Regions from separate parts of the Homo sapiens genome. Here all the other regions are linked to region 7. Evidence: promoter capture Hi-C in 16 types of primary human blood cells and fetal thymus (Javierre and others, 2016). All regions are on one chromosome and are shown on one strand. The core of a region is centred on a gene start or on the middle of the fragment in contact, and the rest is flanking DNA. Distances in the headings are between cores, read along the strand shown. Region 1 overlaps TRIM13 (tripartite motif containing 13). Region 2 overlaps DLEU2 (deleted in lymphocytic leukemia 2). Region 3 has its middle 26 kb from the start of SPRYD7. Region 4 overlaps SPRYD7 (SPRY domain containing 7). Region 5 overlaps DLEU2 (deleted in lymphocytic leukemia 2). Region 6 has its middle 8.9 kb from the start of SPRYD7. Region 7 holds the start of RNASEH2B (ribonuclease H2 subunit B).

Region 1 (3,894 bases), core at 712-3,211, 910 kb after region 7:
TACTATATTCTCCCATCTCAGCCTCCAGAGTAGCTGGGACTACAGGCATGAGCCACTGCACCTTACTATACTGTAGTATGAGATCCATTAGGCCAGGTGCATTGGCTCATGCATGTAATCCCAGCACTTTGGAAGGCTGAGCCAGGTGGATCATGAGGTCAGGAGTTCAAGATCAGCCTGGCCAAGATGGTGAAACCCTGTCTCTACTAAAAATACAAAAATTAGCCGGGAGCAGTGGCAGACACCTGTAATCCCAGCTACTCGGGAGGCTGAGGCAGGAAAATCACTTGAACCCAGGCGGCAGAGGTTGCAGTGAGTCAAGATCGCACCACTGCACTCCAGCCTAGATGACAGAGTGAGACTCCATCTCAAAAAGAAAAAAAAAAAAGAGAGATCCATTAATAAATGTTTTCTTGAAACTAAGTAAGGGTCTAATTAACAACTATTAAAATCTAGGTAGAGGATGTAAGAATACTTTAATATTCTTCTTGAGTTTTCTCTGTTTGAACATTTTCACAATAAAATGGGTGGAAAAACTAAAGAGCCAATTATTAAAAAACCATATTGAGTTTAGAAAGTAAAACTTTGAAAACATTAGCTAAATATAAGCCTCATAAGAAGTTTAATCTGCTGTAGTATGGTTTGTTTTTGTTTTTGTTTTTTTGAGACAGTCTTGCTCTGTCACCCAGGCTGGAGTGCAATGGTGCGATCTCGTCTCACTGCAGCCTCCTCTTCCTGGGTTCAAGCAATTCTCCTGCCTCATCCTCCCAAGTAGCTGAGATTACAGGTGCCTGCCACCACGTCAGGCTCATTTTTATGTTTTTAATAGAGACGGGGTTTCGCCATGTTGGCCAGGCTGGACTCAAACTCCTGGCCACAAGTATCTTCCTGCCTTGGCCTCCCAAAGTGCTGGGATTACAAGCATAAGCCATCATGCCCAGCCTATGGTTTCATCTTTCATAAATTTTTTTTTTTAATGTATTACTGGAAGTCTCTGAATCCAGACCTGTGAGGAGACTGACATACTTGTCTGGCTCTCAGTCTGTAACCTCTGACAAACCACTTATACATACTAGTTTCTCTCCTCATTTGTATAGCTATTTTAAAAGGTATATGAAAAGTATTTACAAAGTTTTTATTTTAAATACTCTGTATCAATGTGTTATTACTCTTCATTCTTTTAGAGACTGTCCCGGTGACTTATATGATCAAAACAGGACAAAGTAAGATACAGAGATCAGATTTCAGATATAATCTCTAAAAATGAAAATTAATGTATTACACATAGCACCTCTGGCATATATATGATCAAAACAGGACAAAGTAAGAAATATCAGATTTCAATACCTCTAAAAATGAAAATTAATATATTACATATAGTATCTAAAATAATTGTTATGTGGCTCTTGCAAACAATATAAAAGTTACCTATGTGTCCATATAAGACAGTAAGTAACCAACCTTTTCTGGCATTATCCTAGAATAAACAGTAGTTAAAATTTCCAAGATATTTCTAGCAGAGATCCTGACAAGGCAAAATAGAGCTAGTACAGAATGTTCACTAGCTTGGTAAGTTCACTTACTCAGAAAGTTCACAAAGGGTTGTCAGACTAAGGTGAAATTCTCAGAAATATAAACCAGGTCACTCATTACCTCGCTAGTTCAGAGCACTAAGAAAAACTTTTTCCTTTTCCTTCATTCTCTTCTCCATACCATAGTTTAGCCTGGACTCTTTCCTGCCTTTTTTTTTTTTTTTTTTGGGACAGAGTTTTGCTCTTGTCACCCAGGCTGGAGTGCAATGGTGTGATCTTGGCTCACTGGAACCTCCGCCTCCTGGGTTCAAGTGATTCTCCTGCCTTAGCCTCCCAAGTAGCTGGTATTACAGGCACTTGCCACCATGCCCAGCTAATTTTTTGTATTTTTAGTAGAGACAGGGTTTTACCATTTTGGCCAGGCTGGTCTCGAGCTCCTGACCTCAGGTGATCCGCCCACCTCAGCCTCCCAAAGTGCTGCGATTACAGGCCTGAGCCACTGCACCCGGCCAGGTGCTGTTATTCTAGAAGGTATGATAAATAGTTTATAAAAGACACATAAAAGTAAGTTTCAGAGATCTGCTCATGTCTATAGTTAACACCACTGTACTGTACACTTAGAAATCTGTGTAGAGGATAGGTCTCATGTTAAATGTTCTTACCACAATTAAAACCATAAAATATTGACACCATACTGAAACCGAAGTTATCCATGCAACTAGCTTTTGTGTCTTCTTAAATTATAAAATTAGTTTTTATTATAGAAAATTCAGAAAATAGAGAGAAAAAGCCACCCATAATCACATCAGCAAGAAATCACCACTACTATTATTTTGGTGTCTTTATTCCAATCCCATGTGTCCGTGCATGTGCACACATTTTAACAGAACTGGTAGCATAATACAATTTTGTATCCTATCCCCTTATTTTATTACATGCCTTTCCCCCATCATGATATGTTCTAGAAAAACATGACAGTCCATGTTGTGGATATGCTTTCTTATTGCTCATTTATGGGTTTGTTCTTGTTGCTGTGTTGTTTTGTTTGTGGGTTGTTGTGTTTTTTTGGTATTGTAACATTTAGGTAAACACCTTATAGAGAAAAGTCTTGCTCCACAGCTCTAATTACTTCCTTAGACAATTCCTTTAAATGTACTTCTGGGTCAAACAGTAAGGACATTTTTAAGGCTGTTGAAAAGATGACTAGGTTTCTCTCTAGAAAGGGTTTATATCACTTTATGAACTCTAACCAATGATGTATTAGAGTGGTCCACCTCTCTATGCAGTTCCTAACCTTAAATAAAACCATAGTTTTATAGGACTTAGTAAAAAACAATAAGACACACTTGTTACCATACCTACCCGAGTTTAAAATATAAAAGTTTAAGGCAGTTAACATTAGTCTGCATCTGTGTCTTACCAATATATATGTATAGGCAATAAATGGTAATAAAAGTTATGGGGTAGGAATAGAAATACTGGGCTTAAAAGCATCTTAGAAATCATCTAAACACCTAATTTTAGGAGTCAAAAAAACTAAGACACCCCCAGCACTCAAGAAGTGGAGACTCATCAGTTGTACACAGCAAACTAGGCATCACAGCCTGAGTTTTCTAATTCTTAGACCTTAGCAATATCTAGAAAGGGACTCAAGAACTCAGTATTCTTATTCATAAAATGAAGGGGTTTAATCATAAGCTCTCTAAAATCCCTTCTAAAATTTTGCAGTTTTTACAAACTAGGTTTAACAGGCTCTCTAGTGAAGGGGAAAGCACAGAACCTGCTTTTGAGTACCTGTGTTCAAGCACCAGTTTTATCCTTCATAAAATTAGGATTTTTATATCTGGGAATGGTGCCACACACTTGTAGTCCCAGCTACTCTGAAGGCTGAAGCAGGAGGATCACTTGAGCCCAGTTCAAGACCAGCCTGGGGAACACAGTTGAGAATCCCATCTCTTGGAAAAAAATTTAAAAATGATTTTTATAGTATTTACCTCATAATGAAATGGCTCCATTGCCTGGGGGATACACCCGTGGTTGTCTCGAGCCAAGAAAGAATTCAGGACATGGACACACACAAGGAGTGGGTTTAGGAGCGGAAAATTTAATAGGGAAAGGTTCCTCACGCTGAGAAATATCACCCAAGAGAGGGTCTCCGGGTTTGGGGTGAAACGCAATCGATTTTGTACAGAGGCTTGAGGAGGTGGTGATTTACATAGGGCCCAGGGGACTGGTTTGACCAGGTGAATCATTTACATAGCCCGTCTAAAGACTGGCCCTCCCACCCTAATTTTTTGTTATGCAAATGTAGCTTCTACCTGGGGCCGCCATGACACCTGCACCCGTGGTTTTACCTAGTGAT
Region 2 (3,968 bases), core at 847-3,346, 930 kb after region 7:
GAAGAGGCTTCTTCACTCAATAATTTTTCCTTTTCTTTTTCTTTTTCTTTTTTCCTTTTTTTTTTTTTTTATGGAGTTTCACTGTTGTCGCCCAGGCTGGAGTGCAATGGCCCAATCTCAGCTCACTGCAACCTCCACCTCCCGGGTTCAAGCGATTCTCCTGCCTCAGCCTCCCGAGTAGCCAGGATTATAGGCACCCACCACCACACCCTAATTTTTTGTATTTTTAGTAGAGATGGGGTTTCACCATGTTGACCAGGCTGGTCTTGAACTCCTGACCTCAAGTGATTCACTCGCCTTGGCTTCCCAAAGCATTGGGATTATAGGCATGGGCCACCGTGCCTGGCCACTCAATATTTTTCAAAGACCAGGTTGTTAGTCTTTTTATTTTTTGAGACAGTGTCTTGCTCAGTTGCCCAGGCTGGAGTGCAGTGGTGCAGTCATAGCTCACTGCAGCTTCTAACTCCTGGGCTCAAGTGATCCACCTTCCTCAGCCTCCTGAGTAGCTGGGACTACAGGTGCATGTCACCAGGACCAGCTAATTTTTTTTTAACTTTTTTTTTTTTTTTTTTGTAGAGACAAGGTCTCACTAGGTGGTCCAGGCTGGTCTCAAACTTCTGGCCTCAAGCAATCCTCCCACCTTGGCCTCCCAAAGTGCTGGGATTATAGGCATGAGCCACTGTGCCCAGCAGTTGTTAGTTCTTTACCAGCACATGATGTAAGTCTTCCCGACACAGACAAGGTCTAGCTTGGCCCGCCAGACTGCTTCTGCCTTGTTGTCCCTCCAGCAGTGAGTGGCAGAATGATGGCAGCCAGCTTTCTCCCACAGGCTGCTCAGTCTGACTACGCATTAGTATTAGGGAAGGTGACCATACATGTTCAGGTTTGCCTGGGAAGAGTCCTGACCACACCTTTGAGCCCAGACTCTCCTCCACTTAGTCTTTCATTTTCATTTATTAATTCCCAGTTTGGATGATAAATTACATAGTCACCCCGTCTGTGAACAAAAGAGCTAGAACAAAAATACAACTCCACAAAAGCAAGAAGTGGACTGCCAACAACTTAATAACTTCCATGGATCAAGGAAATCATGCTGTGACACCACACACATCATTTCAACTCATCCTCACAGCAACCCCACAAGGGAATTTTGGAGACATGAATTTTGCAGATAAGGAAAGTAACAGGGTGAAGTGAGTTGGCCAGGGTCATCCAACTATGAGGAACAGAGGTAGGGTCAAAGATCCATCTGCATGAGCCCAGCTCCTGCTCTAGATGGGCCTACCTGCCTCCTCAGGGCATGTGGTCACCTCACCCACCAATTACTGACTGCGTTAAGAAATAGAATTTTACCAAGAAAGTTGCTTGATTTCAACATGAAAGAAATACTCTCAATATTCATATTTTTCATCTTAAATTTGAAAGTAGAAATCTGCTTTCTGCAGCTGTCTAATTCAGCTCTTGTTTCTGTAACCTAGTTTGAAAGAAGCAACTAAAGAAAGAAACTTTGAAAGAAGCTTCCAAAAGAAGCAACCAAGTCTACAAAGGCACAGTTTGACTCAAATGGATCCAACTGATTAGCAAATGGAAAATAACATGGAGGAATATATTTTGCATGACAAGCATAGCAGCTCCAAGTCATCCCTAATGAAGCCAAAAATTTAAGTGCAACCCAGAGAATGGATGGTTCAGAATCTTTTTTTTTTTTGAGATGGAGTCTCGCTCTGTCACCTAGGCTGGAGTGCGGTGGCATGATCTCGGCTCACTGCAAGCTCCGCCTCCTGGGTTCACGCCATTCTCCTGCCTCAGCCTTCCGGGTAGCTGGGACTACAGGTGCCTGCCACCACGCCCGGCTAATTTTTTGTATTTTTAGTAGAGACGGGGTTTCACCGTGTTAGCTAGGATGGTCTCAATCTCCTGACCTCGTGATCTGCCCGCCTCAGCCTCCCAAAGTGCTGGAATTACAGGCGTGAGCCACCGCGCCCGGCCCAGAATCTTTTTTAAATTTTTTATTATTATTATTTTTTCTGAGATGGAGTCCGGCTCTGTGGCCAGGCTGGAGTGCAGTGGCACAATCTCAGCTCACTGCAACCTCTGACTCCCAGGTACAAGTGATTCTCCTGCCTCAGCCTCCTGAGTAGCTGGGATAACAGGCACGTGCCACCACGCCCAGCTAATTTTTGTATTTTTAGTAGAGACGGGGTTTCACCATGTTGGCCAGGATGGTCTCGATCTGCCTACCTTGGCCTCCCAATGTACTGGGATTACAGGCGTGAGCCACCGTACCCGGCCCAGAATCTTTGCCTTTTGTTTGCATAGTTTAATCTTCTAAACCAGTTGCTTTCCCAGAAAAGGTGACTTAAAGTCATAGCCTTTGTGTTCATCACCATACTCTCCATAGTTTTACAAATTATTCAGTTTATTTTTAAAAGGGGTAATTTTTAAAATTTTTATTTTTAATTCCGAAGCATTCCTTTTAATACATTCTCTTGAGGGAAAAAAAAAATCACACATAGTGATTGTGTGTGGTAGTGATTATGTGTGGCCTAAGTGGCAATTGATCAATACCCCAATCTCAAGCCTGTACATTGTTACTGGTTGACTGGTTGGTTGCCTGGTGGGCTTTTTGTCCTTCCAGATGTTTTTCTACCTTCTGCCTTTTCCAATAAAGCTTCCATTATAGGCGTATTTTCCTTCTTCCCTGCATACCCCACAGAAGGAAAGCTGCTAAAATCTCAGAGCCGGAAAGTTCCAAGGGGGCTGCAGCAGCCCCTCTCTCCTAGTTTTTGTTCACCCTTACTAAGAGCAAGGCAGCTCAAGTCAGATTGCTGCATGTGCATTTTGACTCCATCATTGAGCAAGTTCATTTATTCACTATTCATTCAGCAACATTTGAGCACTTCTCTCTTCCTCCATGGCCACCATTCTAGCCCATGCCACCATGATTTATTGTTTCTGTCTTTGATGCTGAGCCTGTCTCCCTACAGCCACATGGTCCTTCTACACAATCATATCACTGCTCTGCTTACATCCCTTCCCCAGCTTCCCACCCACTTAGTCCAAGTCCAAGTCCCTTGGTTGGGAGCCAACAGATTCCTACAGGTCTGCCATCTCCCCAACCCATGGCCAAGCCATCTCTGACTTCTGCCTGTGCGCTCTACTCTAGCCACATCGGCCTCCTTGCTATTCCTCAAACATGCCAAACTCGCCTCTTCCTTAGCAACTTGGCATTTTTTTTTCCCTCTGCCTAGAATGTTCTTCCTCCAAAGTCTACCTGGCTCACTCCTTCCTCTCCTTCAGTTGTTCTGCTCAGATGTCACCTTCACGGGAAAGTCTTCCTGGCCATCCTATTACAAATGGTGGCCTCTCACTGCCTCACAGCACTCCCTGGTCTCCTTTCCTGCTTCATTTTTCTCCATGCCACTTATCGCCACCTGACATACTTTGTATTTCTTTGATTACTGTCTCCTCCCACTAGAATGTGAGCTCTGTACAGAAGCAATATGCTAGCAGCTATAAGAGTGTCTGGCACATGGCAGGCCCTCAGTAAATATTAGTTGAATGAATGAATGAAGAGTTTGCATGCAGCAATGGGGAGCCAGATCAGGTACGGCCTTGTAAGTCCTGGAAAAGACTTTGGGTTTTATTTTAAATATGAAGAGAAGCCATTGGAGAGCACATCATCTGATATACAGTTTAGAAAGATCACTCTGGGCTAGGAGTGGTGGCTCATGCCTGTAATTTCAACGCTATGGGAGACTGAGGCAGGAGGATCACTATAGGCCAGTAGTTCAAGGCCAGCCTAGCAGCCATGCACGGTGGCTCACACCTGTAATCCCAGCACTTTGGGAGGCCAAGGTGGGCAGATCACCTGAGGTCAGAAGTTCGAGACCAGCCTGGGCAACATGGTGAAACCCCAACTCTACTAAAAATACAAAAATTAGCCAGGCATAGTGGTGGGCGCTGGT
Region 3 (4,099 bases), core at 488-2,987, 950 kb after region 7:
ACCAGGTCTTTCTATGTTGCTCAGGCTGATCTTGAACTCCTGGGCTCAAATGATCCTCCTACCTCAGCCTTTTGAGTAGTCAGGATTATAGGTGTGAGCCACCATGCCTGACCTCTAGTAACTCTAGTAAGTTGGGTACTATCAGTCCTCTAACTGTTCTCCTCCTTTATTGTTGAGTTGGCTATTCTATGTCTTTGCCTCTTCACATAAACTTTAGAATCAGTTTATCAACATCAACTCCTGGGCTCAAGTGATCCTCCCACCTCAGACTTTAGAGTAGTCGGGATTATAGGTGTGAGCCACCATGCGGGACCTCTAGTAAGTCTAGTAAGTTGGGTACTATCAGTCCTCTAACTCTTCTCCTTTATTGTTGAGTTAGCTATTCTGTGTCTTTGCCTCTTCACATAAACTTTAGAATTAGTTTATCAACATCCACAAAGTAACTTGACTGGATTTTGATTGGGATTGCATTGAATCTATAGATCCAGTTCAGAACTGACATCTCAACAACACTGGGTCTTCCTATCCATGAACATGGACTATATCTCCATTTATTTAAGTCTTCTTTGATATTTTTCATCAGAGTTTTGTAGTTTTTCTTATATAGATCTTCCACATATTTTGTTAAGATTTATACCTATTTCTTTTCAGAAGGATATAAATGGTATTGTGTTTTTAATTTCAAATTCTGCTTGTTCATTGCTTACAGTGTATCAGAAGGCAATTGGCTTTTGTACATTAACTTTGTATCCTACAACCCTCTATAATTGCTTATTAGTTCAAGGAGGGTTGTTTGTTGATTCTTTTGGATTTCTACAATCATGTCATCTGCAAACAAAGATAATTTTACTTCTTCCTTCCCAATCTATATGCCTTTTATTTCTTTTTCTTGTGTTCTTGCATTAGCTAGGACTTCCAGTATGATGTTGAAAAGCAGTGGTGAGAAGGGACATATTTGCAATGTCCCTGATAGTGTGAGAAAATCTTCAAGTTTCTCACCATGAAGTATAATGTTAGCTGTAGGTTTTTTGGCAGATGTTCTTCATCAAGTTGAGCAAGTTCATCTCTATTCTCAATTTATTGTGAGTTTTTCCAATCATGAAATGTTTTTTTTTTGTCAAATGCTTTTTCTGCATCTATTTATATGACCATGTGATTTTTCTTCTTTAGCCTGTTGTTGTGATGGATTACATTAATTGATTTTCAAATGTTGAACTAGCCTTGCCTACCTTGGATAAATTCCACTTGACCATGATGTGTAATTCTTTCTTTACATTGTTGGATTCAACTTGCTAGTATTTTGTTCAGGATTTTTGAATCTATGTTCATGAGAGATATTACTCTATTGTTTTCTTTTCTTGTATTTTTTTTTTTCTGAGACAAGGACTCACTCTGCTGCCTAAACTAGAGTGCAGTGGCATGATCATAGCTCCCTGCAGGGTTGATCTCCTGGGCTCAAGTGATCCTCCCACTTCAGCTTTCCGAGTAGCTGGGACTACAGGTGTGTGCCACCATACCAGCTACTTTTTTTTTTTTTTTAAAGTAGAGATGAGGTCTTGCTATGTTGCCCAAGCTGGTCTTGAACTCCTGAACTCAAGTGATCCTCCCACCATAGCCTCCCAAAGTGTGGGATTACAGGTGTGAGCCACTGCACCCGGCTCTTGTAATGTCTTTGTCTAATTTGAATATTAGGGTAATGCCAGCCTCATAGAATGATTTAGGAAGTATCCCCTCTGCTTCTGTCTTCTGGAACAGATTGTATAGGATTGGTATAATTTCTTCCTTAAATGTTTGATAGAATTCACTAATGAATCCATGTGAGTCTGGTGATTTCTGTTTTGGAAGTTTATTAGTTATTAATCCAATTTTTTTAATCAATATAGGTTTATTAAAAGTATTGATTTCTTTTTGTGTTAATTTTGGCAGATTGTGTCTTTAAGTAGGTTATCAAATGTGTGGACATAGAGTTATTAATAATATTCCTTTATTATTCTTTTAGTGTCCATGGGATCTGTAGTGATGCTTCTCTTTCACTTCTGATATTAGTAATTGTGTCTTCTCTTTTTCTTAGTAAGCCTGGCTAGAGGTTTATCAACTATATTGATTTTTTTTAAACTAGATTTTGGTCGTGTTATTTTTCTCTATTGGTTTTCTGCTTCCAGTTTCATTGATTTCTGCTATAATTTTCATTTATTTTATTCTGCTTATTTGGATTTAATTTGCTCTTCTTTTTCTAGTTTCCTAAGGCAGAATATTGGATTAATTATTTTATTTTACTTTTTTCTTCGATGGCATGGTGGAGATGGCTGGTGTTGTATGAACTCAGATTCATGACAACTGAAGAAAGTTGCACCTTGGCCTTCTCTGAGCTAAAAGCTGAAAGCTGGATTAATGATTTTAAATCTTCTTTTCTAATATATGTATTCAATACTATAAATTTCTAAGCACTGCTTTTGCTGTATCTTAGACATTTTGATAAGTTATATTTTCATTTATTTCAAATATTTTTAACTCTCTTCATCAGACTTTTTCTTTCACTCATATATTACTTAGACGTATGTTGTTTAATCTGGGAGGCTGAGACAGGTGGATCACGAGGTCAGGAGATCGAGACCATCCTGGCTAACACGGTGAAACCCCGTCTCTACTAAAAAATACAAAAAAATTAGCCAGGCATGGTGGCGGGCGCCTGTAGTCCCAGATACTCAGGAGGCTGAGGCAGGAGAATGACGTGAACCCAGGAGGTGGAGCTTGCAGTGAGCCAAGATCGCACCACTGCACTCCAGCCTGGGTGACAGGGTGAGACTCTGTCTCAAAAAAAAAAAAAAAAATAGAAGTATGTTGTTTAATCTCCAGGTATTTGTGATTTTCAGCTATCTTTCTGATATCAATTTCTAGTTTAATTTCATGAGGTCTGAAAGCAGACACTATATGACTTCTTTTATATTTGTTGAGGTGTGTTTTATGGCCCAGAATGTGATCTGTCTTGGTGAATGCTCCATGTGATTTTGAGAAGAATTGTAATCTGCTGCCTGCTGCTGGATGAAATATTCTGTAGATGTCAATTATATACAGTTGATTGATAGTGTTGTTGAATTCAACTGTGTCCTTACTGGTTTTCTGCCTGCTGACTGTGTCCATTTCTGTTAGAGGAGTGTTAAAGTCTCCAACTATAATAGTAGATTCACCCAGGTCTTCTTGCAGTTTTATCAGTTTTTCCCTTACATATTTGGATGCCCTGCTGTTAGGTGAATACACATTAAGAATTATTGTGTCAGCGGGGTGCAGCGGCTCATGCCTGTAATCCCAGCACTTTGGGAGGCTGAGGCAGGCAGATCACCTGAGGTCAGAAGTTCAAGACCAGCCTAGCCCACATGGTGAAACCCAATTTTTACTAAAAACTACAAAAAATTAGCCAGGTGTGGTGGCAGGCGCCTGTAATCCCAGCTACTCAGGAGGCTGATACAGAATTGCTTGAACCCTGGAGGCAGAGGTTGCAGTGAGCCGAGATTGTGCCATTATACCATTGTACTTCAGCCTGGGTGACAGAGAAAAACTCTATCTCAAAAAAAAAAAAAAAAAAAGAATGATTATGTCTTCTTGGGGTATTGAATGCTGTTTCATTATGTAATTTCCCTCCTTATCCCTGATATCTGTCCTTGCTCTGAAGTTTGCTCTGCCTAAAATTAATATAGCTACTTCCACTTTCTCTTAATTAGTATAGGCATGGTATATCTTTCTTCATCCATTTACTTTTAATCTATATATGTTCTTATATTTCAAATGTGTTTCTTTCTTTCCCTTTTTTTTTTTTTTTTTTTTTTTTTTTTTTTGAGAAGGAGTCTCGCTCTTTTACCCAGGCGGGAGTGCAATGGTGTGATCTTGGCTCACTGCAGCCTCCGCCTCCCAGGTTCATGCAATTCTCCTGCCTCAGCCTTCTGAAAAGCTGGGATTACAGGTGCACACCACCACGCCTGGATAATTTTTGTATTTTTAGTAGAGATGGGGTTTCACCATGTTGGCCAGGCTGGTTTCAAACTCCTGACCTTGTAACCTGCCCACCTTGGCCTCCCAAAGTGTTGAGATTACAGGCGTGAGC
Region 4 (4,010 bases), core at 282-2,781, 990 kb after region 7:
ACTCCTGACCTCAGATGATCCACCCACCTCAACCTCCCAAAGTGCTGGGATTACAGGTATAAGTCACCGTGCCCAGCCATAAGGACCTTTTTATATGGATTGTAGTCGGTAGGATATTACAATCCCACTTTGCAGGATTAAGGATAGTTTCTGTTCCCCATGTATTAAAATAAACTTGCTAAATACAATGATTACACTTAAATATGCAATAACCGTACTCCCTTTTTCAACATGTAGTTTTATGTTTTAGAAAGTTTCAAAAAGCTTTACTGAATTTAGAAAACTTTTTCTGCAAGTCATTGGGAATGATTGCATGGCCAGGAAACATAATTATAAATAATATTTTGGAATTAGAGATGGGAATTTTATGTAGACTGTACATTAATAACCCTTACAAAATTCCTTAAATGTTAATGCTCTTCTGAGGGAAATAGTGACTTAGAATTTTAATTTTAACTTTAATTTTTTGTTTTTTTGTTTTGTTTTGTTTTGTTTTGTTTTGTTTTGCGACAGAGTCTTGCTGTGTCCCCCAGGCTGGAGTGCAGTGGCCCGATCACAGCTCACTGCAGCCTCAAACTCCTGGGTTCAAGCAATCCTCCCACCTCAGCCACCCCAGTAGCTGGGACTACAAGTGTGCACCACTATTGGGATTACAGGCATGAACCACTGCATCCGGCCTACCTTAATTTTTATTATAGAAAATTCCAAACATGTACAGAAGTAAAAAGAATAGTATAATAAACCCTCATATACCCATCAGCCAGCTTCAAACAATTATCAACTTGTAACCAATCGGGTTTCATCTACACCCCCCCACCCCCAATGCTGCTATTGTTCTTCACTTACCCTCCTTGGGTTATTTTGAGGCAAATGCCAGGTAATATATAATTTTATTCATAAATGTTTTATTTGTATCTCGAAAAAAAGGTCTCTTTCTTTTTTTTTTTTTAGAAAAACATAACCACAATGTCTTTATCAATCCATTCTGCTTTATTTTTTATACTATCAACTTTTTTTTTTTTTTTTTTTTGAGACAGAGTCTCACTCTGTCACCCAGACTGGAGTGCAGTGTTGTGATCTTGGCTCACTGCTGCCTCCGCCTCCTGGGTTCAAGATATTCTCGTGCCTCAGCCTCCAGAGTAGCTGGGATTACAGGTGTGTATCACCACACCCAGCTAACTTTTGGGGTTTTTTTGTATTGTTTTGTTTTTTTTGAGACAGAGTCTCATTCCATCGCCAGACTGGAGTGCAGTGGCACGATCTTGGCTCACTGAAACCTCCGCCTCCCAGGTTCAAGCGATTCTCCTGCCTCAGCCTCCCGAGTAGATGGGACTACAAGCACGCACCACCACACCCAGCTAATTTTTGTATTTTTAGTAGAGATGGGGTTTCACCATGTTGGCCAGGATGGTCTTGATCTCTTGACCTTCTGTTCTGCCCGCCTCGGCCTTCCAAAGTGCTGGGATTATAGGTGTGAGCACCTGGCCAACTTTTATATTTTTACTAGAGATGGGGTTTCACCATGTTGGCCAGGCTGATCTCGAACTCCTGAGCTCAAGTGATCTGCCCACCTCGGCCTCCCAAAGTGCTGAGATTATAGGCATGAGCCACCGTGTCCAGCCTATTTTGTATTATCAACTTTAAGTAAACAGGTATATGATTTTTCTGCCTTTGGTTTTGTAAGTCTAAAAATATTTTCTCATTTAAGTTCTTAAATTTGGGTTATAATAAGAACTAATTAGGACTGGCGTGGTGGCTCACACCTATAATCCCAACACTTTGGGAGGCCGAAGCCGGTGGATCACTTGATGTCAGGAGTTTGAGACCAGCCTGGCCAACATGGTGAAACCCCATCTCTACTAAAAATACAAAAAATTAGCCAGACGTGGTAGCGCACTCCTGTAATCCCAGTTACATGGGAGGCTGAGACAGGAAAATCACTTGAACCCAGGAGATGGAGGTTGCAGTGAGCCGAGATCATGCCATTGCACTCCAGCCTGGGCGACAGAGCAAGACTTAGTCTCCACAAAAAAAAATAAAATAAAATAAAATTAAAAAAGAAAGAAAAATAACTAATTAGGCCAGGCACGGTGGCTCATGCCTGTAATCCCAGCAGTTTGGGAGGCCAAGACAGGTGGGTCACTTGAGGTCTGGAGTTCAAGACTAGCCTGGCCAACATGGTGAAACCGTGTGTGGTGGCACACACCTGTAATCGCAACTACTCAGGAGGGTGAGGCGGAGAATCACTTGAACCCAGGAGGCAGAGGTTGCAGTGAGCCGAGATCACACCACTGTGCTCCAGCCTGGGTGACAGAGCAAGACTCCATCTCAAAAAAAAGAAAAAAAAAAAAAAGAACTAATTTAATTACATTTGTTGTAGTTTACTATAAAAGCAGCACTGGTGCAATGACTCATGCCTGTAATCCCAGCACTTTGGGAGGCTGAGGTAAGAGTTGCTCGAGTCCAGGAGTTGAAGACCAGCCTTGAGCAACATAGTGAGAACACGTCTCGACAAAAAATTTTAAAATTATCCAGGTGTGGTTGTACGTGCCTGTAGTCCCAGCTACTTGAGAGGCTGAGCTGAGAGGATCTCTTGAGCCGGGGAGGTCAAGTCTCCTGTGAGCAGTGATCATCGTGCCGCTGCACTCCAGCCTTGGCACCAGAGTAAGACCCTGTCTCAAAAGCAAAATAAAATTAAAATACTAAAATAAAAATAGCAGTATCAATGATGACAAACTGGGATGTCAGAATTATACAATAACAAATATAAATAATAATATGATAATAGCCAAAGCTTGTGATTACCTTTTAGTTTAAGGTTTTCATTAGCCTTCTTTTCTCCTAAAATTACTTTTCAGTCATTTTACCTTCTGTGTCCTTGCATGTAAATGTGTGTTTTAAAACTCAATTTAGTGTTGCATATTGGGTAAGCCTAAAAGCAATTCCTTTATTTACTTGAGTAAATGGAAATTTAGCTTGATATTTGAAATAGGTTAGCCTGAGAAATAAAATAAATATCAGTAGAGTGACAGTTATACAAGTTAACTGTAGCAAATAAGTTTAATGCTCTAAACTGTTTCTTTTATTCAGCATTATTTGTAATGTACTAAGGTTATAGATACTAAATTATATTTCATAAATTGAACTCATAAATCAGTCCAATTAAACCAAGTGTTTTAATAGCCTGATCCTATCAAAGATAAACATAAAACTTAAATCCCTTTACTCTTTTGTCTTCCATCCCTAATCCTTGATCAATCCAATCATTCATTTTGTCTCTTCTTACACTCAGCCTGTAGAAAGAAAAAGACTGCATAACACTGAAGAAGTGTGGTTACAAAGTTACGACTTCCTGGCTGGGCGCAGTAGCTCACGCCTGTAATCCCAGCACTTTGGGAGGCTGAGGCAGGCGGATCACGAGGTCAGGAGATTGAGACCATCCTGGCTAACAGGGTGAAACCCCGTCTCTACTAAAAATACAAAAAATTAGCTGGGTGTGGTGGCGGGTGCCTGTGGTCCCAGCTACTTGGGAGGCTGAGGCAAGAGAATAGCGTGAACCGGGGAGGCGGAGCTTGCAGTGAGCCGAGATCATGCCACTGCACTCCAGCCTGGGTGACAGAGCGAGACTCTGTCTCAAAAAAGAAAACAACAAAACAAAACAAAAAAAAACAAAGTTATGACTTCTAGCCTAATCTGAGCTCTCAATAATTTTCAGCAATTCTTTGTGCATGTCTATGCATTCTGTGCTTCTTGCATTCTCTATTCATCCTCTGAAAATGCCTTGCCTTCTACCTTACAAAAAAAACAGGCAATCACAAGTGAACTCCAGCTTCCCTCTCTTCAGGTCCAATCCTGCCTTCTTTCCATCTCATCCCAGAAGTGGTACTCTGCATGTTGCAAACACTCTATCTGTAGTCTGGATTCCAAACTCCCCAAATCTGGAACGTCACTTTGTCAGTTATTTCATCGATATCTCATGTCATGGGCCTCCCTCTTCAGTGCTTATAAAC
Region 5 (4,212 bases), core at 782-3,281, 870 kb after region 7:
CATATACCCAAATGAACCACAGTGTTTTTGATTACTTCATCCTTGAAATTTCTACTATAATTAAGTACTTCGTTGTTTTTCACTTATTTCTATTTAGCAGCATTTTAACTAGTTCTTTGCCTCTAGCTGTTTTTGTTGTTGTTTTTGAGAGTCTCACTCGGTTGCTCAAACTGGAGTGCAGTGGTACCATCTCAGCTCACCGCAACCTCTGCCTCCCGGGTTCAAGCGATTCTCCTGCCTCAGTCTCCTGCATAGCTGGGATTACAGGCATCTGCCACCACACCCAGCTAATTTTTGTATTTTTAGTAGAGACGGTGTTTCACTGTGTTAGCCAGGCTGATCTCAAACTCCTGACCTCGTGATCCACCCACCTCGGCTCCCAAACTGCTGGGATTACAGGCGTGAGCCACCGTGCCCGGGTCACCTCTAGCTGTTTTAAACTAACAATTTCATCTTCTATATAGTATACACTACTTTTTTAATCTTCCTAACTTTTTTTTTCCTATAGTATACAATTTAAATTTCTTTCTTTGATGTCTTGTGGTCTTGTCCCAACATTTTCTATGTTGTTTAATTTTTCTTCAAATGAACTAGTCCTAATCCATTTTTCTTTCTCTTTGCCTTTATTTATGCCATTTCATCACTCCAGTTCTCCCCCAACTAATGCCTGTACATTTTTTTTAGTAAGGCAGAATTTCTCATGTGCACTGTTTCTTGACCTTAACAGTCTAATATTAACCATCCTTCCAATGGAATGAACATATGATACCTGTAGCTCATAACCTTTTTCTCTACTTTCGCACACCTGAGGTATATAACGTTTCTATCATTGTTTCTCATTTATTCATATAGGTTAACCTTTTAAATGTATTAGCAATATGAAAAAAAAGTTAAATTTAAGAAACTTCAAAACAGTAGCCTAAACATCAGGTCCCAAGGTTCAGATATTAATTTTATGCTGACAAGTTATATAGTTGACTTTTTAAATTCTTCAAATAGTTATGTATGAACCAGTTACAATATATCCTTAAGATTTATAAACATTAAAAGAATAATTATCTCAGTTTTCCAATATTGTAAAAGCAATTAACAGATACACTTTTTAAAGAAGTAATCCATATGTTTGTTATGGTATTGTTTATAAAGCATTCAATAATAAAAGGCTGATGAAATAACATGTTCAGTAGGATACTGTGCAGCTACTTAAAATAGCAAGTGAATATTTAATGAGCTAAAAAGCTGTTCATTATTGAATAAGTAAAAGATTATCAAATAGTTGAATAGATTCACCAGAATAATTCATATGCTAAACTGTTTTACTGGTTTACTCTGGGTGAGAGATAAATCTTATAGGGGTGGGAGGAATCTTCTTGATTATAAATAAGCATGTATGATTTCTGTGATGGGCAAACTTTGTTTTTTGAAAAGGAGAGAGAGAAATCCTTGAAAAATAAAAGTGATTATTTGAAGCAACCTTACATCCATATAATGATTTACTTTTGGAAACCTATAAAAGGGAATCCTACTGTGTTGAGGAACTTTAGACATGATAATGAATTAACTGTCATGGAAGAAAAATTTCAAAATCAGATAAGTTTAAAATCAGCTTCAGAGGAACAGCGTGCTTTAAGTTCTCAAAGTAATATTGAAAAGGAATTCAAGAATTACTTCTTGAGTTCGTGGTTGAGAGATTTCACTGTCATTTCCCCACTCTTCAAGCCCCCCCAGACCTCAAAAAAAGGTAAGTGTAAGAAAAGGGATATTTAAATCTCTTTTAATTTGAAACTATATTAGTAAACAAACTAAAGAAATACAAATCTGGTTTATTTTATAGTGATAAAGATTTGATAATGCAATGAAACTTCCATATACAAAAATTAAGCATTTTTCTGTTAAGTTTAATTTTTCGTAGCATAAAAGTACTATATAGACATAGAAACCTCAGGAAGAGCAAAAAAAAATTATTTAAAAATCATTTTTATCATCCAAAAGCAGTTGTTATTAGCCTTATATATACACCCTTCTAGTTGCATATTTGGATTAGTGAATTTATTTCTCAATCCAATTCGTTACTGTGCCAGGGACTAGAAAGATTATATTTCCTCTAGAGAAGAGGTTTAGTGCTATGCTTCTGGCTCAGAAATATTTTCTTTAGATTTGAGTTTTATCTAAAAATTACCACTAACTTTATATCTATTCCATAGTATTGTAATGTAAAAATGCCTAGGATTAGAATTTTTCCTCAAGATTGAGGATACAGGAAGATGCATCTTGTTTACTCTGGATTCCTCCTCTACCATATCCGCATGTCATCCCCAAGGATACCTTTTCATAGTGAAAACAATTTGAGGCAAGGGAGGTCATGAAGTATTCTGAGCAGGAGAGTAAGAAAAATAACTTCTGAAATACGTGTACTGGTCAGAATTTGCTTAAAGAGAGAAATCTGGCCGTGGTGGCTCACACCTGTAATCCCAGCACTTTGGGAGGCTGAGGCTGGCGAATCACCAGAGTTCAAGAGTTCAAGACCAGCCTGGGCAACATGGCGAGACCCCATCTCTACTAAAAATACAAAAATTAGCCGTGCATGGTGGTGCACGCCTGTAGTCCCTGCTACGTGGTGGGGGGCTGAGGCAGGAGAATTGCTTGAACCTGGGAGGTGGAGGTTGCAGTGGGCTAAGATGGCACCACTGCACTCCAGCCTGGGTGAGAGAGCAAGACCCTGCCTCAGAAAAAAAAAAAAAAAAAATCTAAGACCTGTATATCAAATTTTGAGTTTGTTTCTTCTTTTGTACCTCAATAGTTACATTTATCAAAAAGCTGAGCTGTTGTAAAATTGTGGAATTCACATTGGATATTCAAAAACATTTCTTACTATTAATGACAACCAATAGTTATGGATATTTCATTTTAAACATGGTTATAAAATGTAAACATGACACTAATAAGCTCAATAAATGTTTGGCCTGTCTAGTATAATAAATATGTTTTTGTCAGAATTTGACCCATTTATGATGTAAGCAAAAATGATATGTCTTAATCCATTTGTCTCACACACTAATTTTATAATTTAAAAGAGCAATAGTAGTTTCATTCAGAAAGACAGGTTTAAGGCCAGGTGCAGTGGCTCACACCCATAATCCCAGCATTTTGGATCACCTGAGGTCAGGAGTTCAAGACCAGCCTGGCCAAGGTGGTGAAACCCCGTCTCTACTAAAAATACAAACGTGGCAGGCGCGTGTAATCCCATCTACTTGGGAGGCTGAGACAGGAGAATCGCTTGAACCCGGGGGGCGGAGGTTGCAGTGAATCGAGATCCCACCACTGCACTCCAGCCTGCGCGACAGAGTGAGACTCCGTTTCAAAAAAAAAAAAAAAAAAAAAAAAAGTTTAGAACCAGAGAAACAGCTGGGCTAACAGAATAAACTATATTATTTTGGAAGTCTAAAAGTCTGGCTATTTTGGAAGAAGGATGTTTGCTGCCAAAACAGGCCTATGGTTCAGATTTGAAGTCAAACCCTCTGTTATGACCACTTTTGTCAGCATTTTAATGGGTGCTGGGCAAAAGCGAAACTCCGTCTCAAAATAAAATGACTCAAAGCCTCAGGTCCATAGTAGTTAAGCTGTTGTGCCATTTTTGAATTAATGATTTTTAGATGTGTTTAGATAACCTCCAAAACCGGAGGAATTTGGAGCTTTTTGTTTGTTTGTTTGTTTCGGTTTTGGGTTTTGTTTTGGTTTTTTGTTTTGTTTTGTGACAGGGTCTTGCTGTATTGGGAGTGCAGTGGCACAATCATGGCTCACTACAGCCTCGATCTCCTGGGCTCAAGTGATTTTCCCCACCCAGCCTCCTGAGTAGTTGGGACTACAGGCATGCACCACCCACACCCGGCTAATTTTTAGAATTTTTTGTTAGTGATATGGTCTCACTTTGTCGCCCAGGCATGTCTGCTTCTGGGTTCAAGCAGTCCTCCCGCCTCAGTCTCCCAAGGTGCTGAGATTACGGCATGAGGCACCATGCCTGGCCTGAATTTGGAGCTTTAAGAATGGGTAACTTGTTCTTTCTAGAAAGTTCTACATAGGTATAACTTCAGGAAGAAATTGTAATGCTTTTAAAATACTCCCTATATTCTATTCATTAAGAAACCAAATCCCTTTGATGTTTCTTTATTTTCAATGATACCAGATGGTCTTGGTGTCTGTATACTCAAGTTG
Region 6 (4,051 bases), core at 439-2,938, 960 kb after region 7:
GCCTGAACCAGTTTTTCAGGCTAACTTTGGAGTGCTCTGGCTGAGAAGAGGGAGTCCATTCAGACAGCTGGGGGAAGAAGGGGTCTTAGAATTTTATTTTTGATTTACACATTTAAAGATTTTTATAAACTTAAAATACTGAAGTGGGTGATTTATACATTTGAAATGAACATGGACCATGTTAGCTAACTCTGTAGGAATCCTTAAAACAAATAAAATACTAAAAAAAAAAAAAAACCAAAGATCTTGAGGTCATAAAACAATTTTTTTCTTTTTTTTTTTGAGACGGAGTCTCGCTCTGTCACCCAGGCTGGAGTGCAGTGGCACCATCTCGGCTCACTGCAACCTCTGCCTCCTGGGTTCACACCATTCTCCTGCCTCAGTCTCCCAAGTAGCTGGGACTACAGGCGTGTGCCACCACACCCGGCTAATTTTTTGTATATTTAGTAGAGATGGGGTTTCACTATATTGGCCAGGATGGTCTCGATCTCCTGACCTCGTGATCTACCTGCCTCGGCCTCCCAAAGTGCTAGGATTACAGGCGTGAGCCACCGCACCTGGCTGGCTTTACTACTGGCTTTTACAAAAGTAACTATAAAATGAATAGTCAATAGAAAAACTCACAGTGGTATTTCCAACCATAAATCATCCATACAGGTATTTTCAAAATCTTGGTATGATTTCTGACTATCCCTATTTACAAAGATTAAACTAAGAATGATTATTCTTTGTAGTCAAAATCTTTGTTAATTCAAGTTATAAAAAGTCTTGTATAATTTTCAACAAGGGTGGCAAAACAATCGAACAGGGGAAAGAATAGTCCTTTCAACAACTGGTGCAGAGATGATTGGATATCTATGTGCAAAAGAATGAAGTTGAACTCCTTCACACCATATGCAAAAATTAACTCAAAATGTACCAAAGACTTAACTGTAAGAACTAAAAGCATGTAACTCCTAGAAGAAAACAGAGGAGTAAATCTTTCTAATCTTGGATTAAATAATGGTTTCTTAGATATAACACTGATTAGTCAGGGTTCTCCAAAGAAAAAAACCAATAAAATACATACAGACATATAAGAGGAGATTTACTATGGGAATTGGCTCACTCAATTATGAAGACTGAGAAGTCCCACAATATGCTGTGTGCAATCTGGAGACCTAGGAAAGCTGGTGGTGTAATTCAGTTCCAGTCTGAAAACCCGAGAACCAGGGGAGTCACTGGTGTGGCTTCTAATCCAAGCCCTAAGGCCTGAGCCCTGAGGAGGGGGAGCATGCTGGTGTAAGTCTCCAAGGTCAAAGGCCCAAGTCAGGAGCACTGATGGCTGAGGGAAGATGATGGCATACCAGAAGGGGGAAAAGGAATTTGCTCTTCTCTCACCTTTTTGTTCTATTTGAGCCCTCAATGTATTGAATAATGCCTACTCATATGGGTGAGGGCACATCAACTTTCTCAGTTTACTGATTTTTTTTTTTTTTGACAGAGTCTCACTATGTCACCCAGGCTGGAGGGCAGTGGAGTGATCTCACCTCACTGCAAACTCCACCTCCCAGGTTCAAGTAATTCTCCTGCCTCAGCCTCCCGAGTAGCTGGGATTACAGGCATGCACCACCATGTCCAGCAAATTTTTTTGTATTTTTAGTAGAGACAGGGTCTCGCCATGTTGGCCAGGCTGGTCTTGAACTCCTGGCCTCAAGTGATCCACCTGCCTCAGCCTCCCAAAGTGCTGGGATTACAGGCATCCACCACCACATCCAGCTATTTTTTTTTTTTTTGGTATTTTTAATAGAGACAGGGTCTCGCCATGTTGGCCAGGCTGGTCTTGAACTCCTGGCCTCAAGTGATCCACCTGCCTCAGCCTCCCAAAGTGCTGAGATTACAGGTGTGAGCCACCATGCCTGGCTCAGTCAACTGATTTAAATGCTGATCTTTCATTTAAACACTCTCACAGAAATACCCAGAAATAATGTTTACCAGCTATGGGGCATCCCTTAACCCAGTCAAGTTGGCACATAAAACTAACCATCACAAGTACCAAAAGCACAGGTGACAAAAAAAAAACAGATAAATAAATCTCTGTCAAAATTAATGTTTGTGCTTCAAAGGCAAGAAAGTAAAAAAACACCTCATGGAATGGGAGAAAATATTTGCAAATCATTTATCTGATAAGTGGCTTATATCTAGAATATATCAAGACTCTTACAACTCAAGAACAACAAAAACAAAAATATCCCAATTTAAAAATGGACAAAGGATCTGAATAGGTATTGCTCCAAAAAAGATATACAAATCGCCACTAAGCACAGGAAAACATGCTCAGCACTGTGTGTCAATAGGGAAATGCAAATCAAAAAGACAATGAAATAACACTTCATACCTACCAGGATGGCTAAAATAAAAAAGACAGACGATAACAAGTGCTGACAAGAATGTAGAGAAATTAGAACTCTTGTACATTGCTAGTGGGATTGTAAAATGGCGCAGCCACTTTGAAAAAGTTTGTCAGTTCTTCAAACAATAGAGTCATTATTCGATCCAGCAATTTTGCTTCTAGATATACAATGAAGAGAATTTAAAACATATGTTCACTCAAAAACCTTGCAGCATTACTCATAATTGCCAAATAGCAACAACCCAAATGTCCATCAATAAATATATGGATAAACAAAATATGGTATATCCATATGGTAGAATATTATTTAACCATAAAAAGGAATAAAGTATTAGGAAGGAATAGATACTATAACATGGATGAACCCTGAAAACGTCATATTAAGTGAAAGAAGTTAGATAATGAAAAAGACCAAATACTGTACAATTCCAATTATATGAAATGTTCAGAATAGGTAAACCCACAGAGTCAGAAAGTAACTTAGTGGTTTTCAGGGGCTGGAGTAGGGAGGAATGGAAAGTAGCTGCTAGTAATATTAAGTTTATTTTTGGGGCGATGGCAATTGTACAACTCAGTGATATTCTATAAACCAATGGTTCATTCTATAACCATTAAACATATACTTTAAAAGGTTGAATTCTATGATATGTGAATTATATCTCAATAAAACTGTTATTTTTAAAAAATCTGTGGCTGGGCACGGTGGCTCATGCCTGTAATTCCAGCACTTTGGGAGGCTGAGGCAGGAGGATCACTTGAGGCCAGGAGTTAAAGACCAGCCTAGGCAACAAAATGAGACCCCCCCATCTCTACAAAAAATTTAAAAAATTAGCCAGGCGTGGTGGCAGGCACCTTAGTCCCAGCTACTTGGGAGGCTGAGGCAGGATGACAGCTTGAGTCCAGGAGTTCAAAGTTGCAGTGAGTTATGACTGTACCACTGCACTCCAGCCTGGGTGACAAAGTGAGACCCTATCTCTTAAAAAAAAAATTGTTTATAGAATTCCTTTATACGGCAACCTGCCCTAGTGCATTTAACGTGGAAATGTTTTTCTAAGAATTCAGTTTACATACTACTTTCTGGGTTGTGGATGAAATGAGGTGTAATTAGAATGTATTTACTTGACCGGGTGTGTTGGCTCACGCCTGTGATCCCAGCACTTTGGGAGGCCAAGGCGGGTGGATCACGAGGTCAAGAGATCGAGACCATCCTGGCCAACATGGTGAAACCCCGTCTCTACTAAAAATACAAAAATTAGCTGGTCGTGGTGGCATGCACCTGTAGTCTCAGCTACTCAAGAGGCTGAGATGGGAGAATCACTTGAACCTGGGAGGCGGAGGTTGCAGCAAGCCGATATTGGGCCACTGCACTCTAGCCTGGCAACAGAGCAAGACTCCGTCTCAAAAAACAAAACAAAACAAAAAAACATATTTACTTATTTGGGGGGCTTCGTTCATTTGTTGTTTTTATAAATATTTACAGAGTGCTCACTACATAGCAGACATCATTGAATTAAGAACATATAAAATGGAATTTTCCTTTTTTTCCTAAGAAATTGGAAAGATTAAAGTATCTTCCTAACTTCTCTCTTCCTTTCCAAGGCTTCACATATTTTTTTTAAGAATGTATTAAATGTTTGATGTGGACTGATATCTGCATTA
Region 7 (4,343 bases), core at 989-3,488:
CCCACAACCCAGCAGTAGATATATTAAAACCTACAATTTTCAGGGATACAATCAATATTTAATTCTTTTGAGGGTTTTGTGTTTAATACAAGGACACAAACACACGTATAAAATGACGATGTCAATACTGATTAAACAGAACAACAAAATAAGAAGCTCAAATTATCATCAGCTATTGTGTATATCTGAAATAACAATAATGCACTTGATTCTGAAAGAATGATTAGAGTTCCTACTCTGAAAATCTAATTGTCTTGATGTGACGAAGTGAGAAGAAAGGATGATTTTTCTAATGAAAAGCATGTATACGGGTAGCCCTTTGCGAGATTCTGTCAAAACCCTGAATTTTGCATTAGCTGTTTTACCACCCAAACGTTTTTACCGAGGATGTGCAGCAATGGGAACTCTCATACACTGCTTGTGGGAATATAAATCAGTATAACCACTTTGGAAAACCATTTAACATTGTCAACTACAGCTCTACACACAAGTACTAGAACCAGCCATTCCACTCCAGGGTATACACCCTAGAGATATGAGTGCCCATGTCTACCAAAAGCCGCCTAAAGGAATGCTCTGAGAAGTGTAACTTGTAATAGTTGCAAACTGGAAACAACCCAAATGTCCATCCACAGTAGAGATACATAGTATGGATACTCATACAATTAAACAGAAGCAGCAATGAAAAAACTAACCAACCAACCAAACAACTGCTACAACATGAATGAATTTCACAACAAGGATGAATCTTTCAGAGTGAAAGAAGCCAGACACAAAGGGTACACTCTTATTCAAACAGGCAAAACTAATCTCTGGTGACAGAGGTCAGCATAGAGGTTCCTGGGGCTATCTAGGAACAGGCATGAGGCGTTATTGGAAACAGTCTACATCTTGAACTGGGGGATGGTTACTAGGGTGGTGTATACGTATGAAAAGTTCAGTGAGTTGCATACTTAAAATCCGTACACTTTATGTATGTTTTATTTTTAGAGGCAAAAAATATTATTGACAGCCTGTCATGTAAACATTTTCAATAACCATCATAAAACTCTAAATTCCTGGGAAAGAATATTGTTATCAGAGTATATTTACTGCCACAAACACTGCATTTGCTGAGCTAAAGTCAAAACTTAATACAGGGAACAGGAGATGTTCCTTTTTTCCAATGTTACATATATAAAAAGACCAAACCTTTCTGGCTTGCACTCCCTAGGCCAAATTCCTTTAACTGTGTCATTTAATCGGTCCTTCCTTGTGTGGCACTGGCTGTCCACTGTCCCAAGCCCTCGCATGTCCTGGATGGCCGGTCATCATCCACACGGGGGCTGAAAGGCCCGGCTCCAGCACTCCTGTGGTCATCATCCTGCTGAATCGCTTTGAACTACCCTTGGCCTAACCGCGACTCCCATCCCGCTTCCCTCCTGCCTCGCCACTGCAGGCCTGTCCCTTTGCTTTCTTAAAACTGCGCACCGTCTGAGGCCACTTCGAGCCTACTGGATCCCTGGTTCCAACCCAGTAGGATCACAGAAGCAGGGCCAGCTGCCAGGTAGGGGACACCAAGGGCAGAAACCTCCGGGGCCCGCAGCGCACCGGTGACCGCGAACCCGCGTGGCTCCCCTCAGGCTGAGTCGGCTTCCACCCTCCCACCCGAGCCACCGGGGATCAGGGCCCGGGAAACACGCTCGGTCCTTTTCGGCGCTTCCGGGTTTGAAAACCGCGGCTTGCTATGACGTGTGACCAAAATGCGGGGCCAGCTGTCCCAGAGAGAATCCCATCCCGCGCCGGGCCGGGTAGTGGGAGCCACCGGGGTGGGGGGCGGCGCGCCCGGGGTCGCGGGCCGCTCCGCCAGTTCTTGGGCCGACCCCGCCGCCCGGGCGCGCGTGTTTACCTGAAACCAGGAACACGTGCTGCCGGGCGCCAACCCCGTCCCCGCAGTCCACGCCAGCGGCCATGCCGCCCGCCTCTTCCGGGGCGCCGCAGGCTCAGCGCCGCGGGCCTCAGTCTCCCAGCCCCGCCGAAAATGGCGGGAGAAGGGTCTGTTCCGGGTGGCGCGGCGCGCTGAGGGACCGGCAGCGCCCGGGAGGAGGCCCAGGGACCGAATTTCGTTTCGTTTCCGAGACCAGCCTGCTGCTCGTGTTACGTTTTTAAATTTAGCGCCAGGCGAGGGGCTCTGAATGCCGGCCGGTGGCCGCAGGCAACGGGAAGGGGCCGCGGCCTCTCCCTCGCGGCTCCGCTAGTGGTAGGTGCTCATCGCGCGCCGCAGGGCGCCGAGTGACGCGGAGCGGGGCGGGGTCGCCGGGGCCCCGCGCTCTGTGGCTGCACCCAGCGGCCCTCCATGGTCTAGCCAGCGGGCTAGGATTGGGTCTGCGGGGTGTGTGCCCGGACAACGGGTGACGCCCGCCACACCCCCGGGGCCGGGGGACTCACCTGGAGCTAGTCCGTGTTAAGGACAATAGCAGTCACATCGGAATCCGAATGCAACTCTTAGCCATGGTCCTCAATTATTTGTGAATATATATTGGTCATCAGTTGCATTCTGTGTTGCTATTGATGTGAGAATATGTGTGCATTGTGAGCTACAAGGGATGTCCTCAATTTGGACTCCGTCCTCATCACTAAAAGAGGTGCACAGTTTTGGGCTCAGAATATGAATTTGTTGTTTTGGAGAACGCTGTATACTGAGTTAAAAACTTAGACATTTATTTAAAAAGTGATGTTTAAAAAGTTAGAGCCATGAAATTTGGGGATTTAAACTTTTAAAAATAACATTTTAATTGAAAAGTGTTGTTTGGTACATGGTTTTTAAGAAGAAAGTACATATTCCTTTCATACTTTAGAGAAAAGCACGGGCCAGGCGCAGTGGCTCAGGCCTGTAATCCCAGCACTTTGGGAGGCCGAGGCGGGCGGATCGCCTGAGGTCAGGAGCTGGAGACCAGCCTGACCAACAAGGTGAAACTCCGTCTCTACTGAAAATACAAAAATTAGCTGGGTGTGGTGGTGCACATCTGTAATCCCAGCTACTACGGAGGCTGAGGCACAAGAATCACTTGAACCCAGGAGATGGAGGTTGCAGTGAACCGAGATCCCACCACTGCACTCTGGCCTGGGCTACAGAGCTGGACTCTGTCAAAAAAAACAAAAACAAAAAAATCCACAAAAACCTATTTTTTTTTTTTTTAAAGAAAAGCATGATGTATCTCTTTTATCCCAGATCCCAGGGGTAACTGTTAACATTTCTTCTCTATTCTTGCAGAATTTTTCCATGCAAAAACAAGTTAATGTCTTATTTTTGCACAATTGAAAGAATAATATACATAACTCATGCACTTTGCTTTTCATGTTTAATCTTGAAGATAGTTAAATTTAGCAGCACTAAATTTATCTCGGCCCTCTGAAAAGGTTTTTAACTTCAAACCTGTTTCCCATGGGGTGAGACCAATACAGCTGCAGTTGATTGCAGGACACAGCTGGTGGAGAAGAGGCCTTTCTGGCTGAGGAAAGGCGCCTCTTGCCAGTTTTGGGGCAAGGAGCAGCAGATTGGTACTGCTCTGATCTTCCCTCTCCCCCAAAACGACTGTAGAAGATGCTGTGGTGTATAGCACAAATCCCCAGGCACACCATCGTCTTACTAACAGCTACAGGAGCACCCCATTATTCCTGTAGGATGGGATCCAAAACCCCCAGTGAAGGCCTAAAACCGCAAATAGTACCAAACCCTAATATACTGTTTTTTCCTTTGCATGTATATCTGTGATAAAGTTTAATTTGAAAATTAGGCCCAGTAAGAGATGAACAACAATAATAATAAAATAGAACAATTCTCACAGTATGCCAGCATCACTACTCTTGCAGCTACTAAGTGACTCATAAGGAGGGGACCTTCTGCAGTGTGGATCCGCTGGACAAAGGTAGAATTCAGGTCCTTTGCAGGACGAAGCTGGATGGTGCAAGATTTCTTCACACCACTCAGAACACTGTACAATTTAAAACTTACGAATTGTTTCTGGAATTTTTCGTGTAATATTTTTGGACCAAGTTCGACTGGGGGTAACTGACACCTTGGAAAGCGAAACTTCGAATAGGGGGAGCTACTGTACATGAGAAATGTTACCCATGATTCCCTTGCTCAGACATACATACCTGTTTCATTTTTCTCTGATCCTTTCTAGCCCTTGGCTGTATTAATGTATATTTTTGTGGTTGTTGTCACAATTTAGACTGTTTTGTCTGCTTTTCTCACTTAACATTGTCATAAGCATGTGCCCCTTCATATCGAGAAGTATCATTGTTAATGAAGGCATGATATTTAACACAGCTGGTGTACTAGGGTTAGTTATCCATTC

The links. The method cuts DNA at HindIII sites, captures the fragments that hold promoters and counts their contacts. A CHiCAGO score of 5 or more calls a contact.
Region 1: a fragment that was not itself captured here is called in contact with the fragment with the promoter of RNASEH2B in region 7 in 15 of 17 cell types (naive CD8 T cells, naive CD4 T cells, total CD8 T cells and 12 more); the score reaches 22.4 in naive CD8 T cells.
Region 2: a fragment that was not itself captured here is called in contact with the fragment with the promoter of RNASEH2B in region 7 in 17 of 17 cell types (total CD4 T cells, naive CD4 T cells, naive CD8 T cells and 14 more); the score reaches 30.4 in total CD4 T cells.
Region 3: a contact is called between a fragment that was not itself captured here and the fragment with the promoter of RNASEH2B in region 7, in 11 of 17 cell types (total B cells, naive B cells, naive CD4 T cells and 8 more). The highest score is 12.0, in total B cells.
Region 4: a contact is called between a fragment that was not itself captured here and the fragment with the promoter of RNASEH2B in region 7, in 2 of 17 cell types (total B cells and erythroblasts). The highest score is 5.6, in total B cells.
Region 5: a contact is called between a fragment that was not itself captured here and the fragment with the promoter of RNASEH2B in region 7, in 2 of 17 cell types (naive B cells and total B cells). The highest score is 8.1, in naive B cells.
Region 6: a contact is called between a fragment that was not itself captured here and the fragment with the promoter of RNASEH2B in region 7, in 1 of 17 cell types (total CD8 T cells). The highest score is 5.5, in total CD8 T cells.

What each region holds. Positions count from the first base shown.
Region 1 is chr13:49,999,157-50,003,050 of GRCh38, reverse strand. The region is part of intron 1 of TRIM13 (tripartite motif containing 13); the gene reads right to left. All of the region lies in intron 10 of DLEU2 (deleted in lymphocytic leukemia 2), which reads left to right. Among named protein-coding and RNA genes, the nearest start is that of TRIM13, 4.1 kb to the right of the region's middle. The HindIII fragment of the contact is 4,152 bases long and covers 1-3,894 here.
Region 2 is chr13:49,981,265-49,985,232 of GRCh38, reverse strand. DLEU2 (deleted in lymphocytic leukemia 2) reads left to right here. Exons shown (of 14, transcript NR_152566.1): 14 at 1,479-2,684. Among named protein-coding and RNA genes, the nearest start is that of MIR3613, 13 kb to the left of the region's middle. The HindIII fragment of the contact is 1,154 bases long and covers 1,520-2,673 here.
Region 3 is chr13:49,959,997-49,964,095 of GRCh38, reverse strand. No RefSeq gene overlaps it. Among named protein-coding and RNA genes, the nearest start is that of SPRYD7, 26 kb to the right of the region's middle. The HindIII fragment of the contact is 6,899 bases long and covers 1-4,099 here.
Region 4 is chr13:49,916,747-49,920,756 of GRCh38, reverse strand. The region is part of intron 4 of SPRYD7 (SPRY domain containing 7); the gene reads left to right. Among named protein-coding and RNA genes, the nearest start is that of SPRYD7, 18 kb to the left of the region's middle. The HindIII fragment of the contact is 2,530 bases long and covers 267-2,796 here.
Region 5 is chr13:50,038,160-50,042,371 of GRCh38, reverse strand. The region is part of intron 8 of DLEU2 (deleted in lymphocytic leukemia 2); the gene reads left to right. Among named protein-coding and RNA genes, the nearest start is that of MIR16-1, 8.8 kb to the left of the region's middle. The HindIII fragment of the contact is 6,162 bases long and covers 1-4,212 here.
Region 6 is chr13:49,943,246-49,947,296 of GRCh38, reverse strand. No RefSeq gene overlaps it. Among named protein-coding and RNA genes, the nearest start is that of SPRYD7, 8.9 kb to the right of the region's middle. The HindIII fragment of the contact is 7,532 bases long and covers 1-4,051 here.
Region 7 is chr13:50,907,686-50,912,028 of GRCh38, reverse strand. RNASEH2B (ribonuclease H2 subunit B) reads right to left here and starts at 2,238. Exons shown (of 11, transcript NM_024570.4): 1 at 1,889-2,238. The coding sequence starts at 1,952. RNASEH2B-AS1 (RNASEH2B antisense RNA 1) reads left to right here and starts at 1,317. Exons shown (of 3, transcript NR_046552.1): 1 at 1,317-1,546. RefSeq lists silencers at 1,484-1,533, 1,744-1,983, 1,994-2,423. The HindIII fragment of the contact is 8,311 bases long and covers 1-4,343 here.